Linked DNA regions of Homo sapiens: regions 1, 2 and 3 are each linked to region 4. The links are contacts of gene promoters, found by promoter capture Hi-C in human tissues and cell types (Jung and others, 2019). All regions are on one chromosome and are shown on one strand. The core of a region is centred on a gene start or on the middle of the fragment in contact, and the rest is flanking DNA. Distances in the headings are between cores, read along the strand shown. Region 1 has its middle 240 kb from the start of REEP3. Region 2 holds the start of LINC00845 (long intergenic non-protein coding RNA 845). Region 3 has its middle 200 kb from the start of REEP3. Region 4 holds the start of ZNF365 (zinc finger protein 365).

Region 1 (3,242 bases), core at 519-3,018, 1.4 Mb before region 4:
GTTGGGGGGGAGGTGGCAAGGCAGCTTTCAATCATGCCCACCAGTGTGTCATGTCGCTATGGCAACACCCGGGAGTTACCGTCCCTTTCCATGGCAAGGACCCAATGATTACTACATCTTCCCTAGACATTTCTGCATAAACTGCCCCTTAATCTGCATGCAATTAAAAGTGGGTATAAATATGACTACAAAACTGCCCTGAGCTGCTACTTTCTGCCTACTCAGTAGCCCTGCTCTGCAGGAGCAGTCATAGAGCTGTAACACTGTCTCTTCGATAAAGCTGTTTCCTTCTACCTCTGGCTTGCCCTTGAGTTCTTTCTTGGACAAAGCCAAGAACCCAGTGGGCTAAACTCCACTTTGGGGCCTGCCTACCCTGCATCAAAGACAGTATCACATTCTGGGCTGAATACTTTTACATTCCCAACCTGTTACCCCAAGGGCCTGATTTAGAGTTCCCTCCACAGGAACTCCTGCTTGTGAATATGCCTCAGAACTGCCCATACCTCAAAGGGAGTCTGTCCAGAGAAGAGGCCACGGTTGGAGAGAAACGTAAAGAAGATAGGGAAGACAGGGAGACAAGGTATTTTCCTCATCCTTCTAAGGCCACTCCTTCACCCTCTTTTTCATCATTCTGTGCTCCTGAGAATCTTCAAAAACACGGCATTGGCTTTTTTCAAACATTTCCCAAGTTGAATGAAATGTCAGTGATCTTTCAATGAAGACCTATTGAAGCAATGTATGCTTTCTATGTGACTTTAGGAAGGGAGGAAAGAGAAGGAACAAAGTGTGTGCTCTAAGTACTACGTATTAAGCTCCATGCTGTCTATTTCTCATAAACAACAAACATAAGGGGCATTCTAATTATATTCTCCACTTTAAAGATGAGGAAACTGAGGCTCTGGGAGCTCTAGCAGCCCTCAATCACTGAGCAGTTGGACCAGGATGAACTCGGAAATCCCAGGTCAACTACCATGTGCTTTCTTTCTGTTTTAGACATGTCTTCCAGGGCCCATCACCAATGTGCTCAGACTCAGCTGCTGAGCAAACTGATGACTCACATTGAGCCTACAATTGCTGCCTTGACTGGGCTCCACCAAACTACCATAGCAATAAAGTATCTCCCTAAACCAAGGCTCAGCAAGGTACAGCCATGGGTCATACCTCACCACCACCTGTTTTTGTAAATAAAGTTTTATTGGGCCACAGCCACCCCCGTTTGTTTACATATTGTCTGACACTTTCACACTACAATGGCAGAGTTGAGTAGTTGCAACAGAGACTATATGGTCTACAAAACCTAAAATATTTACTATGTGGCCCTTACAGAAAAAGCTTGTCAGCTCCTGTCCGAGACCCACATTGGGCTGGCAAATATCTCATTACACCATAGACAATCCTAAAACCACTCTGAGAGGAACAGTAGAATCTTAATCCTTTCAACTAATGCTTCTCTCAATGAATATTTCTCCAATACATGTCTATGTGTCAGTACTTTTTCCACATTAACCATAATCAACTTTTCTAGGATAGGCTATCCTGCCTCAGAACTACCATATTACCTGCTTCAATCTTTATTTTCATGTGGTAATTTCCTGGCTGCCGTTAAGAGTTGGTGTGTGGGCAGTGGTTTCCATTTTTCCAGTATTCAGGGATATTACCTCTCCCACTGTGTGTAGGTTTGGTCGGACCCTCAGTCAAGGTGCCCCGCCCTTTCCCCAACCAAAGATAGGCTTGAGACTCAAAGAGCCCGTTAGGACTCCTTCCTCACAATTTCACATTTTGAGTAGAGTGACTCATAGACAGAAATTTCATTAGAGCTGCTTTATACCTCCAGCCATCCCCTTCCAAGATGCTTGGCTTCTACTGCTCTGCAAATTGCCCATTCCAAGCCTGCGTCTTCAGATTTTTCTTCAGTCCTGTCAATTCTTTTTTAAAGTAAGTTGGCCAAATCACTGTCTGTCACTTATACCCAGATACAGTAGGTCCAGAAAACCCTGCAGGGTAGGAGAATTTGTCTCTAAGGAGTTTGATTCCTTCTGAATAAATTAGGATTAGGAAAGGAAGCTCGTAATTGAGCCTATAAAACTCTAGAAGGCTTTTTAAATTCAATTTCTTAAATGGAAAAACATATATAATAAAAAGAATAGCAATGTCATGTCACAAATTTTTCTGTTCATCTCAATGGTTAAAGTTCAGCAATTTCTGGTTGCTAATGTAATTTTACTTCTCTGGGAGTAGCAGTTTAGTTCTTTGTGACATTTAGTAATGAGCACCATTAGATTGCTCCCTATAGCTTCTACCTGGGGACATTTGCCAGTCTATGTAGGCAAAGGGGCACATGAAGTCTTTTAATGCACCCAACATGCCACTGACAAGATACCAAAGAACAGTTCACCACTTCTGATTTATGACCCTCACACCAGAGGGTGTTGGGGGAGGAGAGGAACCAGAAGACCTAGGAAATCAGTGCAAACAATACAAAGTCTCCAGGCCTCAGCAGATGCACCCATAGCCTCTGGTTCCAACATCAAATGTCTGCCAGGCAGTGAGAAAGCAATGGGCCAGAGGAAATGAAAAATATTTCTGCATGAATAGAACTCTAAGAAGGGACTCTCAAGGTAATTTAATTCACCTACGATCTGATGAAGGAATCCCCTTCACAAAAACCCTTAACAGGTGGATGTCACTAAAGATGTCCAGCTGAATACCTTCAGTGATGGTGAACTCATTACCTTTTGGGCAGCTTGCTTCATTTTTAGACAGCACTATTTGTTGGAAACCTAACAACTCTGATTTGAAAGAAGCCACACAAAACCATGCTGCTCCCTCTTCCCTGTGGCCACCCTTTGCATTGATTTTGAATACAGTCAACATGCCTCACCTAAATCTTCTCAACTCTTGAGCTAACGCCCCCAGATGAACCAAATCATTTTTCACTTGACATGAATGTGACTTTTACTTCTCTGCTTATAAAGGGTATATCATTCAGGTCGTGGCAGGAGTTAGATGATGCACTCCTATTTGGGAACTTGAGTTTAATAAGGGGATCTTTTATAAAAGTGTGAGCAGAGTGTAGAAAAACTAAAAGGGATTGTGCCAAACCCCAGGGGTGTTACCATTCTGTCTTGAAAAAGCAAAGAAAGCAGCAGCACCTGGAGATGGCACAAACTGTGTCAAGAGGGTTGCCTGGTGGGCACTGTGAACTTTATTTACAGGTAGGGCCCTTTCTGGAAAGGGGCTGG
Region 2 (3,613 bases), core at 1,027-3,526, 1.4 Mb after region 4:
ACAGCATGATGACTGTAATTAATCATACCATATTGTATACTTGAAATTTGCTAAGATAGTAGATCTTAAGTGTTCTCAAAAATAAAGGTAACTGTGAGGCGATAGATGTGTTAATTAGATTCATTGTGACAATTATTTATTGACATATATCAAATTATCACATTTTTTCTTAAATATATAAAATTCTTATTTGTCAATTATATCTCAATAAACCTGGGAAAAAATAAACTTCACACATCTTTTATTACTATAAGCCATGTAGTTAAGAGATGTGAAATGAGTAGTTGACCTAAGGAAGAACCACATGTTCTGAAGAAACTGGGGATAATTAACTTGTTAAATAATTCACTAAAATTAACCATTGGTCATGTTGTGAACCCTTTGGTCATGGTTGAAAAGGTTATGTAAGACAGTGATGCTTACAATACAAAATTCTGTGTATAAAATTCCTTACTTGAGCTCAAAGATCCCATTATAAGACCCAGATTGGAGTTACACCAATGCAAAAAGGTAAAATAAGGGAAATGGCAATGTTCTGGTTATTTTTCTACCTAATATTAACTATAAAGATGAATCATAGAAAATTGCTTTTGGTAATAAAAAATAATTAAATAACAGTAATTTCATAAGGCAAACTAATAGTTTGGCTGGGCTTCTTCATGACATAGTCTGAGTTCAGCATAGCATTGCAAGTCTACATCACAGACCAGAATAACTTAAATCTATTCTTGTAAAGGCCATTGCCCAAGTGAAGAGGTTAGACAAAATAGCAAAGAACCAATTTTCTGAAGGAAGCTGAAGAACGTAAGTATAATAACATTATGAAAATGTAGTTGGCTATGTCAAATCTGCCATAAGAATGTATTTTCTTTAAAGCAATCCTTGCACAATCCTTAGACTGTCAATTATCCTCAAGTGGCCAATAATCCAATTCTACTGGTTATAAACTTGTATGCGTGTCAAACCCTCTTTTTGAATAATTTTGAGCTCTGAGCTAAATCCTTTGCTTTAAAAAAAATTAATTTGAGGAATGATAGACATAGCTAGCCTATATATTTCAGGTTCCTAGCTCCTTCCACAGCACATGGAAAACCTCACTTCCCAATGCACTTGCAGTTAGGCAGGACCACGGGGCTGAGTTCTGTCCGGTGAAATGTGAGCAGGGCTGAAAAACTGAAAAGGCCCATATAGCCCCCTTTCTTACTGTAACAATCAAGGAAGCCTTGAATTGAGATTTTGAGTTTACAGAGAAACAAAATCAAAAGACCTTAAATTGCCAAGCCACCTTGTGGAAGACAACTGAAGAATCATTCAAATCCCCTGGGTCTGCATGAGGAAGAAATTAACTTTTATTGTGTAAAGGCATTGAGAGATTGGAGTTGTTTGTTACCTCATAATAACCTAATCTATCCTGACTACAACTAACTTCAAAAACATACAGGGCCCAAACAACTGGTAATTCCTCAAATACTCTGCTTATTACTAGGCTATTAAAGAAATGCATATAAAAAGAATATTGAATGGAACTACAGTAAAATGACATCAGAAATTAGAATATAATCTTTTTAATTTTTTAATTCTTCAAATTTTCTCTACTTTGGAGAGTTGTTTAAAAAATTAAAAACAGAAAATTTAAACATCCCTCCCCACAGCATATGCCCCCTTTCCAGAAAAGTCTTGGATGTGTAGGTATTTGGTTTTGTTTGTTTGTTTTCGTCTTAAGGAAGAGTTAGTTAGGGTTGGAGACTGAAAATTTGCAACTGGGACCTGAGATTTGAGATCTAAAATCTTCAATCCTGTTTTATAAAAATGTGTCTAGAGAGGATTGGATTAAAGCCTTTGGAGAACCAAGCCCTGGAGATATTTTGTTTGGCCCTGATCCCTCTATCTATATGTAATTCAATATGGCAAAGCAAAGTCATAAATATGAGTAAGGAATTCTAACCAAGTTTAGATGTTTTTTCTTATAACTACACTGTTGTTCCTTATTTCTCTTTCTTATTTTTTAAAACATCAAAGATTAAACTGTTTTCAAAAGAGATTTTTTTGTCCATTATTTTGCTATAGCCCTAAGCACTGTGCCTATATAACTTAGAACAAACTACCATCAAGTGATCAAATAAGGTTTGTGTAGTCACTAAATTTCAGTATGAAATTGAGAAGAGTCATATACATATAAAAGAGGATAGTTTACCTCACAGAATAATCAAATTAGGCTCTTCTTAGTTATTTAGAACAAGATAGATAAAATATCCAAAATAGTTTCAAAAATCAACAAACAAAGTAATGTAAGTTTCACCTGTAGAGAATCAGTTTCTAGCCTTGCTTCTGGAGTTTTAAGCCAAATAGAGCTACTCACGTGCAATCCTGCCAATAAAAATGGACTAAATCCCACTAGCAAACACTGTCTTCAGTGTTCTCCCTTTCCTTCATCCTTGCTTCTTGCTCTCACCTACTCTACCCAAATTCTGAACTTTGGATGTTTGCACTTTTGAACTTAAACAAAAAGAATTTGTTCTCTGGTTTTTACGCCCTGGCATGCCTCAGGATTCTCAGTGTAAATGGCCTGCAGCCCATCCTGCTCTGCTACTGTTCTGCAGAAAAACTATTATAGCTACTATTTAGTGAGCAATTGCTATATGCTAGGCATGTGCTGAACACTTAATATATTATCACCTCAAAATAATATCCACCATAGCCTGATTGATGAGTATTTACCATATTATCATGATTGGGGCAGCGAAGAAACTTGAGAAAATTAAATGGCAAGAGACCAGGATTTGATCACAGATCTCAATTCTATACTTTTAACTACTACTTATATCATTTCTGCCACCATATTTTCATTAAAAATATATATTTACCAAGCACCTACTATGTTCTAGGTTCTGTGCTAAATAATGATTATAGAGATGTGAACATATAGACAGGGTCTCTAGTTTCATGGCAATTGCATTTTAATGGAGATTATGTCATAATATGTAAATAAATAAATAATCCCATTTTCAAAATTGGCTTTTAAAAATAGGTTAAAGTGATGTGGAAGGACTGGAGGGGTATGTGGCCACATTAGATGGGTAGGGAGGAAAGGAACATTGAGAAGGAACCAGTCATTTGAAATTTTGGGCTCTGAACATTCCAGAGAGAATTACAAGTTTACAGATGCAAGGTCAAAAATGAGCAAGCTATCTTCAAGAAATGAAAAGTCATCTAGTATCACCAAACTTAGTGATAAGAGAGTAGATAGAGTTAGAGTTGGTCCTACAGGGCCTTGCCAGCTATGCTGAGAGAATTTAATTCTAGGTGCAATGGGAGCCACATTTTAAGGAGGGAAGTGGCATAACTGTAACATAATTTTTTAAGTATAGGTAATGCATCCTTTTTAATAATGGAGAGAGGCGCAAGAAAGATATTAAAGTATAAGGTAAAAAGACCAAAGCATAAAAGCCTAAAAACAAACAGATTTTTGTACCTTTAGCAATCCGTTCTATCCTAGGAAATAATGGAGTAAGTGGGAGACGAAGGATCAGATTTTAATTTACTAATATTTAATGATATTAAGATCTCTGGCTGTCATCTCTTCAAGCTTGGATATCCTCTTAAGGTCAAATAC
Region 3 (3,533 bases), core at 689-3,188, 1.3 Mb before region 4:
GTCTCAAACTCCTGATCTCCGGTGATCCACCCACCTTGGCCTCCCAAAGTGCTGGGATTCCAGGCGTGCGTCTCTCTGCCCGGCCTATGAGGTGCTTTGAAAGGCATTTTTAGAACTAGAAAAGCTTTGGCTTTTTCCCTCCCTCCCTACTGCTAAGCCAAGTGAAGGAGTCCAAGCAAATCAGTCACAGGGACCAGAAATGCCTACGAGAAAGATTTGTATCTCACTTCCTGGCTGGATGTTTACAGAGCCCTGACATCACAGGCCCTGGTGCTGCTTCCAGACCATAGAGAACAACAAGTGTTCTTAGGAGAGCCAAAGAGCATCCACAGGCATTTGCTGGCATCTTTGCCTGGTTTCCATCCATCTCAAGAACGCTGAAGGCAAGAGACTGGCTGGAGCAGCATGCAATTACAGGGTGGGAGAGAGGGCTGATTAGATGGTTAAGCTTTAGGGAGGAAAAGGATGGACAGTGTTTTCCCATTGACCAAGGGAACCTGAAGAGAGTAGCAAGACATGCATCATCTGGAACAGACCCTGACCAAAAGAACTACTGCCTGAAGCCAGGGGTCCCCAGCAGGAAGAAGCTGTGTAGAGTGAAGCCCAGAACATGTGGGGCAAAAGCTGAGAGAAGATTTTCAGAAGCAACTGGAGAATGACCAGAATAGGAGGAACCCCCTGCATCCCCACAGGGTGCCCTGGAGAAGCTCTATGTGAATTCTCAGATTAACAGAGGGAATGAGTCCCAGCCAGTATTATCCATGAGAGAATCACATACAATACCAGCTAAGTACAGTGACACTTTGCTCCTCTTTCTCTGATCTGCATGCTGGATTCTATACTAGAGGAATTAGAAAGCAGGAAAGAGATGAGAAATAGTCAGAAAAACACTGAAAGAACAGTCATGCTCTCCTTCCTCAGAGTCAGAAGTAAGAAGAGTTAAGGAGAGAAGATTCAAGCTATATATGAGATTGGACTAAGTTTTTTTTTGGCTGGGGAGGGCGTTGTTTTGTTTTGTTTTTTTAATACAGGGTCTCACTCTGTCACCCAGGCTGGAGGACAGTGGTGCACTCATAGCTCATTGTAACCTCAATCTCCTGAGCTCAAGTGATCCTCCCACCTCAGCCTCCTAAGTAGCTGGGACTATAGGCATGCACCATCACACCCAGCTAATTTTTTTTTTTAATACAGACAGGGTCTTGCTAGGTTGCTCAGGCTGGTCTCAAACTCCTGGCCTCAAGTGATCCTCCCACTCAGCCTCCCAAAGTAGTGGAGTTACAGGCGTGACCCACCATGCCCAGCCCAGACTAACATTTTTAATACCTGAAAACAGGGGCTAGGCACAGTGGCTCATGCCTGCAATCTCAGCACTTTGGGAGGCCCAGGCAGGAGCCCAGGAATTCAAGACCAGCCTGGGCAACATAGTGGGACCTCATGTGTACCAAATACACACACACACACACACACACACACACACACACACACACACACACACAATTAGCCAGGTATGGTGCATATTCCTGTAGTCCCAGTTGCTCCGGAGACTGAGATTGAGGATCACTTGAGCCCAGGAGGTTAAGGCTGCAGTGAGGCAACAGAGTGAAACCATGTATTAAAAATAAGAAACCATGTATTAAAAATAAGAAACAAACAAACAAGGACTCTTGTTACAGCTGAATGTGAGCCAAAAGCTATGAAATCTACCAGAGATTGAAGTTACAGAGCACAGAAGGGAGATTTAGCATAGTATGGTTGAAAGCAACCAAGGGAGAAAAAGTTGTTTCCCATTTGTACCTCTCAGAATTTAGCCTTGGGCTAAACTCATGTTATGAAGCAGTTACCCAAATCAGGCAAAACATTACTATTTAATAAAGCTTGATGGTGGGTGTAGTCACCAGCCTTCAAGATGGCCCCAAGGATCCCCACCTACTGTTATTCACAAGCTTCTGTAATTCTCTGCCACACAAGGGGACCAGGGCTGGTTTGGTTGATCAATAACATATGAGAGTAAGATTAGATTATTTTAAAAGACTGTGGCTTCCTCTCTGTCTCTCACTCTCTTCCCCTCTCCTCTTGCTCTAGGGGAAGCACGTCCTGTGAAGAGTCCCACATGTCAAGGAACTGAGCTTCTAGCCGACAGCAAGCAAGAAACCAAAACCTGCTAACACGGGTGAGTCTGGAAGCAGATTCTCCAGCTCCAGTTGAGCTTTGAGATGACTGCAGCTTCATCTCACACTTGACTTACCTTGCGAGATACCCTTAGCCAGAACCACCCAGCTAAACCACTCTCTGCTTCCTGACCCTCAGAAATAGTGTGAGATAAATTTTTGCTGTTTAAGCTGCTACATTTTGAGGCGATTTATCCCACAGCAGTAGATAACTATTATAGTGTACACATAAATACTTGATATACAAAAAAAACTCATAATAATTTAAATATATAGCACAAAGTTTTCCCCCACGTTTACCATCTTGAAGCTAAAGTAACAAGAGCTCTTAGGGGTGAGGACATTCAGAGAATTTAGAAACTATCCCTGACTTGGATGAAAGATTCTTATATTCCCCTGAGAGCACACTCATAAAATAAACCAGGATTTAGAAATAAGAAATGCCATGAAATTAGTTCCTCTGAACTCAAATTATTGGAATAATCTATAAAATCAAAGGTCGCTGGTATAGGAGTCAAAGAGTGCCACCTGGGAGTGCCGCTTAATATTGCCATAGATACGGCAGGTAGCTACCAAAACAGATTCAAAAAGCAACACTCCTGCAATGCTCCTGACTGACACTAGATGGCGGTAAAGTTTTATCATGCAGTTAAATTTCAATTAGTCTGGCCAGGGTTAAAATAATTTAATGAGCATAAGGCGAAAAAATTAAAAGAACCCTTACTTAATTACTTAGTAAATACTATTTTTGAATTATTATTTCTAAGCTGGAATTAAAATTGAGTTGCTTATACTGATCTGTGACCTGAAACCATTTTTGAAAGGAGGTGGGTTAAAGTGTATTCATTATTCATTTTATAAAAATGAATAGTTTAATAATTGTAATCACTGCAGTATTAGCATCCATTCAGCTATTCCTCATCTGAAATTTGAGATGGTTTCAGCAGAATTGAGGCCCAGTTTACTTTTGAAAGATTGGTATTTATAAATAAGACTAGGAAAGTACTCGAATAATTGCAGGGCATTTTTCATTTCTCTCCTTCAAATTATTCCCTATTATAAGAGGTTGTCTGGCTTAATAATTAATAGCACAGACCTAGAACCAGACTGTGTAAGCTTAAATCCTAGCCCTACTTTAGATTATACCTCATGATCTACCTTATGAATGAGTCACAAATGAATTCATACACATAAAGTACTAGAAACAATACTTTTTCTTTAGAGATTCTATTTAAATATTAACCATTATTATCACTTCACATAAGTTCCCTGAGTCTGAGATAGAGCATGCTATGGAAATATACAGTAAAAACTGAAGCATGAAATCTAGGTCAATTTCCCAATGTCACACAATCAGCAGAATCA
Region 4 (3,430 bases), core at 277-2,776:
ACTACCTTTACAGAAAAAGTTTGCCAACTCCTACCTAGAATCAAAAAGGTGGGTAACATTCCCTCTCCACAGAAGAGAACACTGAAGCAAGGAAGTAAAGCCATTAATCCAAGGTCAGATGGAAAGTGGTAGATCCAGAAGTGGAATTCAAGTTTCCTCCCCTCCTGAATTTGGCACACTAAATGCAAAACCGTGCCCCATTTTAAGGATACAATCCGAGATGCGTGAACACAAGAACATATGAAAACTCACATGAATTGTCAAAATGGGTCCTAAGACAGCAAGCTCAGGACCTATCCTCAAGTACAGGAAAGATTACTCAAGCTATGCACAGTGGCATTAAGCCTGCAATCAGCTGAAAATTTTTCACCCTGAAATTTTTGCCTTTTTTTCCTTCAGGTATTGCTGTGATGACATAAACCAAAGTGCTAATCGTAACAATAACAGACCCCATACGTGAGTTTCACTGAAACCTGGGGACCCAATGTGTCAAATACCATTTGGCATAAGTGGGGCCATGGCCAAGATTTTTATTATAATAGAGTGTTCTGGACGGATTTGTCTTGTCTCAGATGCTATTTTATATGACAACCTCTAGGGATGGTCAGTGTGTGAACCAGGTAGGTATCAGCATACTCTCTTAATAACAGGAAGTTCTGGTTTCCTTGTAGGAATGCATTATCTTCACCCTAGCAACAGATGACTGTTGGCAACCCAATTCTGCAAGCAGTGCATATCTTCTATTCCTCCATGAAAGGTTTCTACTTAAATGTAACAAGCATTGGACCCGAAATGAGGGAGCCCAGCTGGGGTCTTTGGGTGAAAAGTGTCCTCAACCTCTTCAAAAGCAGAGGTGCAAATGGTCCCCAGGCAGCGAGGCAGGCAAGGCTTCTAGGTGAAGCCCCCGGCCCCCAGAGAGGGGAACCTCTTCCTGTGATGGGTACACCGGGATGTTTAACCACTGGTTTTCTGGGAACGAGATGCAAACCCTGGCTCAGCATAGGGCCAAAGACGCTGACAAGAGGTAAGGAAAGGGGAAGTCAGGATTCTAAGGGGGCAATGGGAAAAGGGTGGCATTTTGGATGGGGAAATGGGTAATCACACACTCCAGAGCACGCAGGCTTTTATGGGCCCAGAGGAAACCCAGTCCACTGGGCTGATGAAGAGCCCTAAGTGACTCTGCCAGAGAAGGGCAGGCTGGCAATGACCCTGCCCCGGGGTCCCAGCTCTCCCCGCCCCCTCTCCGCTGCGTGCCAGCCCACGGGTGCCAGAGTGGATTCGTGTGCACATGAGTTCCTGCTGGTGGGGGCCGGGAAGCCGGCTCTCCCAACTCCCCGCCATGCTGCGGGCTCGGGGACCCCCTCCCCAGCCCCGGCCACCCCGGCAGGTCCCCTCCGCCGAGCCGCGGGCGCAGATGGCCGGCGGCCGCCTCTTACCCGACTTGTTGCTGCTGCTGCTGCAGCCGCCGCCTCCGGTGCTGATGCTGCGGGAGCGAAGCGGTTTTCAGCAGAGCCGTAAATCAGACTGAGCCGGGCCGGCTCCCACTCCCCGCCGCACCTCCGCGCCGGGACCGGCGGCGTCCAGGGCGGAGCGAGGCGCGGCTAGCCAGCGGGGGCGGCGCTCGCGGGCACCGTGGGGCACCGCGCCGTGGGTGCGGGGGTTCCGGAACGCCGCGGCCCAGGGCTGCCACCTCCGCGGGGAACACCCTTGCTCTGCCCAGCTGGCGGGAGCATCATCTGCCCCCCCGCCACCCAGCCGGGAGCCCGATCCGACTCAGGATTACACTGACATCACTGCGAGAGATGCTGGGATCATTCCCCGGGGGAGGGAAGGAAAGACGCGTGTCAGCCTCGCAGTCGCGGCGCTTTCTGCAGGCCCTGGCAAGCTTTTTTGCACTAGTTTGGGGGGAGCGGGAGAGTGTGGATGAGGATGCAGCATAGCTGGGCATCTTCTTTGAAAATCTACCCGTTGGAAGGTCCGGGTATTTAATTAGGACCTCTTCATCCCAAGCAGCAGGGCGAGAATGTCCCAAAATAACTAACCCAGAGAGTACACTCCAGCCTTCCTAGCCAAGTGTCCTGAGGCTACGTTAACAGGCAGAACTAAATCTAGTAAAGTGCAGGGATTAATGAACAAACAGTTAAAGCAACAAGATCCCTCACCTACACCCCCATTTCTGAGGCGGACGCCCCTTTCCCTGGAGAAAAAATTTGTCCTCCTAAAGAGGGGATGTCCTGAAGAGAAGACGGCAAATCATTCCTTCTGAAGGACTCTGATGTCTCAGCTTGCTGGGCTTTTGCTTTTTTTTTTTTTTTTTTTTTTTTTTAACCTGTTTTGGTTTACCCCTACTGTAACTCCTGAAATGTGAAACCTAGATAAAAGTTACTGCTGGGTTTTCTTGTTCAAAGAAGAGAAGAGATTCTGTTCATCTGTAGACAGTTAATGCATCCTCTTGACTTCTCAGGGTGTCTTTTCTCAAGGCTTGCTGTTACTCATTTCAACACCCGATTTTATTTTAACGGTAAAGAGCTCAACAGTTATCTTAGTTGAAATTTTGTTTTGTTTTTGACAAATGAAAACAAATGAATTGCTTTGTTTTTTCACAAATGAATTATCACATCAAATGCAATGAAGATCCCAAGCTCTGGCATCAGACTTGATTCAAATCCTGGTTCTAGGGCCTGGGTCAAGTAACTAGACTTTTCTGTTCCTTCAATTCCTCATCTATGAAATGAAGATAATCAAGACCTACCTCTTAATATAGCGGTGGATCGAATGTGCTATGATGATGGAGGTAAAAACCCTGCCTGACAGGGACACACACTGATAAAGTCAGCTGTTATCGTTGTTGCTACTTCATTTATAATTATTATTAATTCCATAAAAAAGGGGCCTACACACATTTAAAAAGCAGGAAGGAGAAGAGGAATTAATATGTACTAACTTCTACGTAAATGGAGATAGGCTATTGTGCTGGGGTGTGTTTGCTTTGAAAATATTATATCTCATTGAAGTTACTTTTTGACTCGCTCTCAAGACTATTCCAAGAATCAATTTATTTAGTACAAAATCTTAAAGTCTGAAAGATACACTCATTGGAGTGCCAAGTTATCTCCGTCATCTTGTGAGGTGCCTGCAGGTTAACCTCTTACACCCACTGCCTTCATGGCAAAACATAACAAAAGCATGCTCTGGTCCTCCCTTCCCCCCCGCCCCTTTTTTTTTTTTTTTTTTTTTTTTGAGACGGAGTCTCACTCTGTCTCCCAGGCTGTAGTGGCGCGATATCAGCTCACTGCAACCTCTGCCTCTTGGGTTCAAGCGATTCTCCTGCCTCAGCCTCCCTAGTAGCTGGGATTACAGGTCCCTGCCACCACCCGGCCAATTTTTGTATTTTCAGTAGAGACGGGGTTTTGCCGTGTTGGCCAGGCTG

Evidence for each region. The method cuts DNA at HindIII sites, captures the fragments that hold promoters and counts their contacts. A contact is called where the count stands out against the background at its distance.
Region 1: a fragment that was not itself captured here is called in contact with the fragment with the promoter of ZNF365 in region 4 in 1 of the 25 tissues and cell types used here (spleen).
Region 2: a contact is called between a fragment that was not itself captured here and the fragment with the promoter of ZNF365 in region 4, in 1 of the 25 tissues and cell types used here (dorsolateral prefrontal cortex).
Region 3: a fragment that was not itself captured here is called in contact with the fragment with the promoter of ZNF365 in region 4 in 4 of the 25 tissues and cell types used here (IMR-90 fibroblasts, aorta, hippocampus and 1 more).

Annotation. Positions count from the first base shown.
Region 1 is chr10:63,761,805-63,765,046 of GRCh38, reverse strand. No RefSeq gene overlaps it. Among named protein-coding and RNA genes, the nearest start is that of REEP3, 240 kb to the right of the region's middle. The HindIII fragment of the contact is 3,122 bases long and covers 208-3,242 here.
Region 2 is chr10:61,015,088-61,018,700 of GRCh38, reverse strand. LINC00845 (long intergenic non-protein coding RNA 845) reads right to left here and starts at 2,426. Exons shown (of 2, transcript NR_108052.1): 1 at 2,360-2,426. The HindIII fragment of the contact is 4,801 bases long and covers 1-3,613 here.
Region 3 is chr10:63,719,431-63,722,963 of GRCh38, reverse strand. No RefSeq gene overlaps it. Among named protein-coding and RNA genes, the nearest start is that of REEP3, 200 kb to the right of the region's middle. The HindIII fragment of the contact is 3,304 bases long and covers 287-3,533 here.
Region 4 is chr10:62,372,465-62,375,894 of GRCh38, reverse strand. It overlaps ZNF365 (zinc finger protein 365), which reads right to left and starts at 1,526. Exons shown (of 5, transcript NM_014951.3): 1 at 1,437-1,526. LOC283045 (a long non-coding RNA gene) reads left to right here and starts at 768. Exons shown (of 4, transcript NR_104162.1): 1 at 768-1,024. The HindIII fragment of the contact is 5,251 bases long and covers 1-3,430 here.